Regions from separate parts of the Homo sapiens genome. Here region 1 is linked to region 2. The links are contacts of gene promoters, found by promoter capture Hi-C in human tissues and cell types (Jung and others, 2019). All regions are on one chromosome and are shown on one strand. Each heading gives the region's core, a stretch centred on a gene start or on the middle of the fragment in contact. The rest is flanking DNA. Distances are from core to core; before and after follow the strand shown. Region 1 has its middle 24 kb from the start of LINC02509. Region 2 holds the start of NEIL3 (nei like DNA glycosylase 3).

What was found. Contacts are between HindIII fragments. The study calls those that stand out against the background at their distance.
Region 1: a fragment that was not itself captured here is called in contact with the fragment with the promoter of NEIL3 in region 2 in 1 of the 25 tissues and cell types used here (dorsolateral prefrontal cortex).

What each region holds. Positions count from the first base shown.
Region 1 is chr4:176,897,733-176,902,109 of GRCh38, forward strand. No RefSeq gene overlaps it. Among named protein-coding and RNA genes, the nearest start is that of LINC02509, 24 kb to the left of the region's middle. The HindIII fragment of the contact is 5,130 bases long and covers 107-4,377 here.
Region 2 is chr4:177,307,329-177,311,647 of GRCh38, forward strand. NEIL3 (nei like DNA glycosylase 3) reads left to right here and starts at 2,546. Exons shown (of 10, transcript NM_018248.3): 1 at 2,546-2,781. The coding sequence starts at 2,626. RefSeq lists a silencer at 2,427-2,546 and an enhancer at 2,627-2,716. The HindIII fragment of the contact is 18,461 bases long and covers 1-3,355 here.

The DNA of each region.
Region 1 (4,377 bases), core at 1,422-3,921, 410 kb before region 2:
TTAAATGGCTTAAAACATCTTGGAATAAAAAGTCAAAAAGAACAAGAGGAATGCTGAAAATTTACTATAAAAATTTGAATGTATAAAAACATTCTAGTTATTTCATGTGAAATAGGTGATACTAAGAATGATAGCTATAATCATGAATTCAAAATAAGTGATTATTTAAATATTTAACATTTTTATTCATATCAATATATCTTAAAAATATCTAAAATCTAAATTTTCTATGTAGATAATGATATATAATTTACTTATTCTTGCTTTGTAATAAATAAGCATGCTTACTTTATTAGTGATAACTCTGAAAGCCCCATAACATTTATATTTATTTTTTCAACTGTAATTACGAAAAATGCTGAACATAAACAAAAACAGACAGAATAGCATAATAAACCCACATGTATTCTCGATCCAGTTCAACAGTTATCAACTCACAGTCAATTCTGTTTTATCTGTTCCACCAACCACTTCCCCATAACCATATTATTTGAAGCAAATCCCAGATTGTATAAGTCCATCCATAAAATGTTTACATTACCCAAAAAGATAAGAAGTCTTTACTCACACAATTATAGTGAAGTTCATTTACCTAAAATCTATAATAATTACTCATTAAATATCAGGTCAATATTCAAATTTCCAATGATCTCATGAATATCCTAATTATATGTATTTCAATATGACTGAAACAATCTCAATGTTTTGTGATGGTTCCATTTCTCTTAAATCTCCTTTAATCTATGGGTTCATCTTCTTCTTCTTCTCTCTCTCTCTCCTTTTTTTAAACCTCATACAATTTACTGTTGAAGAAGCTGGGAAGTTATTTTCTCCCAGTCTGAACATCACTTATTGTATCCCTGTGGTATATTTTAACTTGTTTCCCTGTCCTCTTATCTAAATATGTGATTACACTTAGATTTGCTTTTTCCATTTTTTGGTAAGATTTGTTTATGGGTGATAATGTGTTATTTCAACCAGAAGCCCATGATATCTGCATGTTCCTAATTTTGTGAGGTTAGCAGTAGCTATGCTTAATGTGATGATCTTTCAATAAATATCTTAATGCTGTATGGTGGGACTATTTTTATTCTATTATTTCTTCTTTATTAACTGAAATATTTATAAAAGAAGAAACTCATTTATTGATTTGGCTATTCAGTGGCACAGTGCACAGGAGAGGTTGGGTAAATGTTTGAGTCTTTACCTATATGCACCAGCTATTCAAAAGAGTGAGTCAGTTCTCTACTATCCAGAGGTGACCAGTTGGCTAAGTTATGTTAGTATCACTCACTATAGCTATTTGAATATAAACATTTAATGTATTGAACTATTTATACTCAAATTTCCCATATCAGGCTATGGGAGCCACTTCAAGATGACTGCTGAACCCGTTGGGCACAACTTTTAGACTTTCGTTATTTTCTTGATAACTGGCCTGAAAGATGGTCTAGGATTTTCTTGACCATTTCTTGACTAAGACCTGGAATCAGCCATTTTTTTTTTCAAGGATCCCTAGTTCCTTTTAATAGAAACAAATCTTAGTCTTGATATCAACTCTGGGTGATATTGAGGCTTATTGTTATGTGGTGGGTCACTGTTTCTAGACTTGTGAAATAGATGGAGCTAGGAAATATAATGTTAAGATAAAATACATCAGTAGTATATTGATACTTTGAATTAAAGACCATGACTATGGGAGTTTTGTTTAAAACCTTCTATTTTGCATTTGTTTCTTCTTTTTCCCAAACTTAGAATTCTAGTTCTCAATAATACCTGAAATAATATCCTTAACATATCACATAATTACTCATCTACTTTATTTAATTATATACATACAAACTCTAATAATAGCACCGAAACTACTTGCAAAAATTGGCTGCTGAAAGTAGGGTTTTTTTCAGTTAATAAGTTACATCCCTTTGACAATGCCTAGTCAAATTATTGTGTTTTAATATCATTTGTAGTCATTCTTCCATCAACTAAATACATATTTTATTTCTTTGCTTTATTTTATATTAGTTTTTTTAGAGATTGCTTTTTTTGAAAAAAAAGTTTATAATTATGTAAAAAATTTCCATGTAGTTCCAAAGTACAATCTACAAAACTAGATATGCTCTAGTCTAGCTTGTCACCGTGTTGTATCGACCCTATTCCTTGTCTCTTGCTTTAGCTAAACATTTTAAAAAGTTATTATTTATCCTTTCATTCTTTAAAACTTCAGATATATACACAATTATGTTCTCACATTACTTATATAAATAGCAACATTATATATCGATATCTCTATATATTCTTTTTACAATTTCATTGTCATATTTGTTCAGTCTTTTATTGTGTTTGATTCAAAAGAGAGTAACTAAAAAGAAAAATGAAAACATTTATTTGATTAAGTCAGAGGAAACAAAGAAATTTTTCCAAGTCTTTGACACTGCTTAAAGCTTTATGTATATTTAAAATGACCTTGCAAATACTAACAGAAATGACATGTGCTTCAAAAGAAGCACCATCATATCTAAGATGGTGAGAAATTAGTTATGAAATGAGTTAGAATATTCAGTGATTTGGTCAGAGTGGTTGAATTAGTTAGTGGTAGTTTTTTATTGATTGATACTTATCTATTATTTTTAAGATGTAACATTTAGTAACGAAGCTCAAATTTGGTTGCTTTAGTTCTATTTTATTGTGAGAAAGAAAAATAAACTAAAATCTTTCTCTCAGGTAAAAAATACAAATGTCATAAACTGATTGATTAAAGCCCCAAAGTTTTATTTAAGTGATAATACTCAATGTCCACAAAAGTAAGGAGAGATTAATATCCTCCATTATTGATGTTGAGATCATGAGAGTGTAAAGTAATACGGTATTTTCAGGGTCATTTAGAAACTGTTCTACCTATGTGGTGAAGGTTTGACCTAGCCATTGCACTTCTAAAATGTTATCCTAATTTTTTTTCATACAGGTGTGAAAGATAGTATATACAAGCATATTCACTTAATGTTTTGTAATAGCTACCTCCTGCCATAAAAAATAAAAAGAACTCATCTTTTACCAGAAGCATTTTTATAAATTAAGGTTTATCACACAATTAAATGCTACATAGCCATGAGAAAATGAACTATATCTACATATTCAAAGATGGCTAAGATGTATCATAGAGTGAAAAAAATCTTTAAAATCTATAGAGAGAATATAGAAAATTATACCAATTGTTAACAGGGATTAACTTTGAGAAATGGGGCTTGGAGGTGAATGTGTGTGTGTGTGTGTGTGTGTGTGTGTGTGTGTGTGTTTATGTGTATGTATTTTGGGAGAGGCACCATATTATATATAATTGTGCATGGGCTTGGAGGTGAATGTGTGCGTGTGTTTATGTGTGTGTATTTTGGGAGATGCGTCATATTATATATGATTGGGCATGGTTTGGATTTCTACATTTACATTTCCAATAGTTCTTTTAAGTATTTGAATTTTTCTTTAAGAATTGCAACTAACAGCCGGGCGCGGTGACTCACGCTTGTAATCCCAGCACTTTGGGAGGCCGAGGCGGGTGGATCACGAGGTCTGGAGACCGTGGCTAACAAGGGGAAACCCCGTCTCTACTAAAGAAAAAAAAAATTAGCCGGGCGTGCTGGCAGGCGCCTGTAGTCTCAGCTACTCGGGAGGCTGAGGCAGAATGGCGTGAACCCAGGAGGCGAAGCTTGCAATGAGCCGCCGCTGCACTCCAGCCTGGGCGACAGAGCGAGACTCCGTCTCAAAAAAAATAAAAAAGAAAGAAAAGAAAAGAATTGCAGCTACATATTATTAAAATGATTTCCATCTGGTAGCAACATGCTTGAATTGTAAAAAAAAGAAATTAAAAAGGAAATAAAACTCATCTATACTAAGAAACTAAAGTGATAAATTAAAAAGCACAGATCAAAAATCAAAGTTTTCATGCATTTAACAGCCATGCCATATAATAAAATACACTGGAGCTAATGATAGTAGAATCGAGCCCATTACAGTTCTTTGGTTTTGACAAATTTAAACAATTATCTTTCAGCACTCCTCCACGTTATCATTTTAAACTTTTAAAAATATAGAAAGTGAGAACATTAGGGAAGATAGGGGTAAGAAAATCAGGCATTTTTTTCACATCTTGTATATATATATACACATCTCTCTCTCTCTCTCTCTCTATATATATATATATCTATATAGAAAAAAATATAGAGAGGCTTGCTACCTTCAGATAAATGACTTTTTGCACTATACACACTTTTGTTAAAAAAAAAAAAAACCAAGGCAGAGCACTGTGGCTCAAGCCTGTAATCCCAGCACTTTGGGAGGCCAAGGCGGGCAGATCTCCTGAGGTCAGGAGTTTGAGATCAGCCT
Region 2 (4,319 bases), core at 1,296-3,795:
TAAGAGTGCACAAGAGAAAATTCAAGGAGGATAGCAGTTAGCAGGATCCTGACATAGTCCAGCTGAAATGTAGCAAGGGTCTGCACTAGGGTAGGCTTGCTTGCAATGTTGTGGGCTCTTTTTACAGACAATGTAGATACACAGCGTATGCGAGTTTGCTTTTGATTGGACGTAAGAAGCAAGATCAAAGAGATATACCAAAGGACTCAGAGGCTAGTCACATATAAACAAAATCTGGGCCAGGTGCAGTGGCTCATGCCTGTAATCCCAGCACTTTGGGAGGCAAGGCGGGTGGATCCCTTGAAGTCAGGAGTTCAAAACCAGTCTGGCCAACATGGTGAAACCCCGTCTTTACTAAAAATACAAAAATTAGCCAGGCGTGGTGGTAGGTGCCTGTAATCCCAGCTACATCGGAGGCTGAGGCAAGAGAATTGCTTGAACCCAGGAGGTGGAGGTTGCAGTGAGCCAAGGTCAGGCCACTGCACTCCAGCCAACAAAACAAAACAAAATCTGACTCCGCCTTTCAGTCACGCCAGTGAAATCTCTTAATGCCTTCAGTGTCAGTCCCCAACTCTTACTAATTAAAGATCGTATTTGACCCAAATGTGCACAGTACACAACACCTTAAAGAGAAATGAGGTGAATCAGATAAATGAACAGGTTGATATTTTTTAAATTTGTCCACAAGCTCTTTGATATCCCTCCTTTCAAATCACAGCTTAATTCCCCTCCCCTTGTGAATGCACTGTATTTAATGACTGGCTTCTAATGAATGGAATAAGAAGTAAGTTACCATAGTAAACTAAGTAATAAAGGGTGACTAAGTAATAAAGGGCATTGCAGCTTTCTCCTTGACTTCTCTCTTGGATCACACTCTCAGCTGCCATGTCATTAGAAGAGCCGAGCTGCACTATAGAGACACAAGAGGTGAGAAACTGAGGCCTCCTGCCAACAGCCATGCAAGTGACTCATCTCGGAAGTGGATCTTTTAGCTACAAAAAGCCTTTGGGGCACTTTAGCCTTGGCTAATATTTTAACTGTAACCTCTTGAGAAATGCTGAGCCAGGATGACTCTGGCTAGCTAGACTATTGCCAAATTCCTGACCCACAGAAACTTTGAAATAACAAATGGGATAATTGATGAGGTAACAATAAATAACTAGTACAACGCTGAAAGAGGAGAAGGTATATAGGACTTTTCTCCATCAAAGGACAGAGATTATTGAATTGAACAAGGGAGTAAAGTACAAATAGTCCTGAAATTGATCCAGCCAACTTTTGATCACTAATCTCTCCCTGCAAAGGAAAGATTTAATACTTTTCAAAATTTCAATCAAGTCTTCAGTATATTCAAATTCAACTCTCTAGTATACAGATGCTCCTCAACTTACGATGGGGTTATGTCCTGATAAACCCGTTGTAAACTGAAAATACAGTAAGTCGAAAATGCCTTTAATATATCTAACCTACCAAACATCATAGCTTCACGAGGCCCTCCTTAAATGTGTTCAGAACACTTACATTAGCCTACAGTTGGGAAAAATCACCTAACACAAAGCATATTTTATAATAAAGTGTTGAATAATTTATTGACTACTGTACTGAAAATGAAAAACAGAATGGCTATATGAGTACTCAAAGTACAGTTTCTACTGTGTGTCACTTTTGCACCATCATACAGTCAAAACACTGTTACGCTGGGGCATCCTAAGTCAGCAACCACCTGTGTATATGCTCTTGTGGTTTAACGGCAGCACAGTGCTATGCTTATGAAATCACTTAGAAATTGACATTCTGTTTTAATGTGTAGTATTTCAGTTTTCAAAAAAGAATACACTTTATAATTTACAAAACTATATGGAGTCATAAACTTCATAGATTTATATGTATGCATGCATCTTTGGTTAGGGTTGTGGGTAAATTTGAAAAGCTACGCATTACCCTCAAATTTATATAAACCTCTACGTTTAACAAAGCAATTTCATATAGCTTTCATCTTGGGGCGTCCCCTTACAAAATGGATGCATGCACTTAGGTAGGGCTCACTTAACTATCTAATAATGGAGTTTTTAAATATAGACACTAGAATATATTCTGCTGTTTGTTCCAAAAACCCTCTTCTTCGTTTCTCTTATCCCACCCACGTCCGAATATAGCATGCCAAAAACAGAGCCAAAAACAAGATTGTCTGTGACATATCTGTCCTGTCACAGACAAGGACAGATTAAGAGGACCAGATCAGAAAATGTGTGTATACTAAGTAGCTCAAAGACAAGGGCAAAACTTTAACGCAAAGAAAATACATTCAGAGCTTTCCAAGTCCCAATTTCTTCTGCTTTTACAGTTCAGCCTAGTTAGTTGTCCTCCACGCCCCCCGCCCCACGCGCGTTTGCGTTTTCTTAATAAACCCACAGCAAGACCTAGGGCGGGGGTGAACCACAGCGCATGCGCCGTAGGGAGCGACCTCAACAGCTAGGGTGCTGTTTGGGCGGGGCCTGGGCGGGGCCAGACGCGCGCGAGATTTGAATTTCCTCTGCGTGCGGTCAGTGCCCGCGCAGCGTTGAGTTGCACAGCGGTATTCTCACCAGGCCCTGCAATCGGTGGGCCACAGTGCCGGCCACAGAGATGGTGGAAGGACCAGGCTGTACTCTGAATGGAGAGAAGATTCGCGCGCGGGTGCTCCCGGGCCAGGCGGTGACCGGCGTGCGGGGAAGCGCTCTGCGGAGTCTGCAGGGCCGCGCCTTGCGGCTCGCAGCCTCCACGGTTGTGGTCTCCCCGCAGGTGAGCTACTCCTGTAACAGGCCATGCAGTCAGCAGGGGGGAAATGGAATAAAGACCCCATCAGGGTTCCAGGATTTAAAGTGTCATCTCTTTGCTCTGGCCCAGGTTTCCTGGGGTCCCACCTTTCACAGAGTTTATCGTCACTTTACTGTAGGGAGAAGTCGGTCCTAGCGCGCCTGCGCAGGAGAGGAGGGCTAGCGTTCTGGGCTCACGCTGCCGGAGCAAGATGCCCTAGGGGAATCCAGTGAAGGTGTTTTATCCGAGTCACCTTACTTAACTTCTTTATGATACACACATGGTTTCCCATGTCTACAGCTGCATTTTTTACTATTGATATTATCAAATCTCTGCTACCTCTGATATGTTTTCTTCGTCCCATTTTAAGCTTTTAGCATAAAATTCTACTTTCTTGCTTGGCTAATCTGCAATTGGTAAGTATATCACAACTAGTATATAATTCTAAAACTACACGTAGAAAATTTAGCACTAACTTCTCACTCAACTTCATATTGCCATCTAATTAAGGGGCAATGAAACCCAGTTCTGGTTCCCTTAAGTGAATTTATTTCTTTTTAAAGTAAACTAGCACAGCTTCTTGCCACTCAGGCATTCATTGCAGACGATGTGGTATTCATTTGGCCAGAACTTGTACTAAAAATATTCTGATTAAGGCATCATGTTTTAAAAGCCCTCTAGATGTATGGATGATTGTATTTCATGCCTACATGCAATATTGCACTGTATTTCAATTTCTTCTGCAAAGCTTCTTATAGCCTTTGGTCCTGGAAGAAAAAGTTGCCTGCTATGAAATTAGCATATGCTTACAACTTGAAAGAAATGAGGTTCTAAGTCTAAGAAAATATATTTTCAAACTTGGGAAAAAATAAGTTTTACATCTCCTTCCAATTGCCCTTTTGTTTATTTTGACTTGATATGCCAGTAAGTACTCTGTACCTATTTTTTTTTATTATTGTTATAGTGTTTCTAAAATCGTTTCAGGGTACCACAGAGATGGATTTTAGATGGTTTCTTAAGAATATTAATATTTATGAAAATTACTCATTCAATAAAATTTTGAATACTCAAGACACCTGGGGAGCAAAAACAAATACTTCCTCTTTTGGAGCCTATACTTCAGTTGGGAAGACACAAAGACATTCATTAAATAATCACCTAAAGAAATATAAATTAATAAGTTCTGTGAAGGAGAGATACACGATTCTTTAAGGACTTGTAGGAAGACCTGGGAAGGCTTCCCCAGGGAAGTAGCAAAGCTGAGGTGTGGGCCGGGTGCAGTGGCTCATGCCTGTAATCCCAGCACTTTGGGATGCTGAGGTGGGCAGATCGCCTGAGGTTGGGAGTTCAACACCAGCCTGACCAATATGGAGAAATTCCATCCCTACAAAAATAAAAAATTAGTCAGGCATGCTGGTGCATGCCTGTAATCCCAGCTACTCAGGAGGCTGAGGCAGGAGAATCGCTTGAATCCAGGAGGTGGAGGTTGCAGTGAGCTGAGGTCGCGTTATTGCACCCCAGCC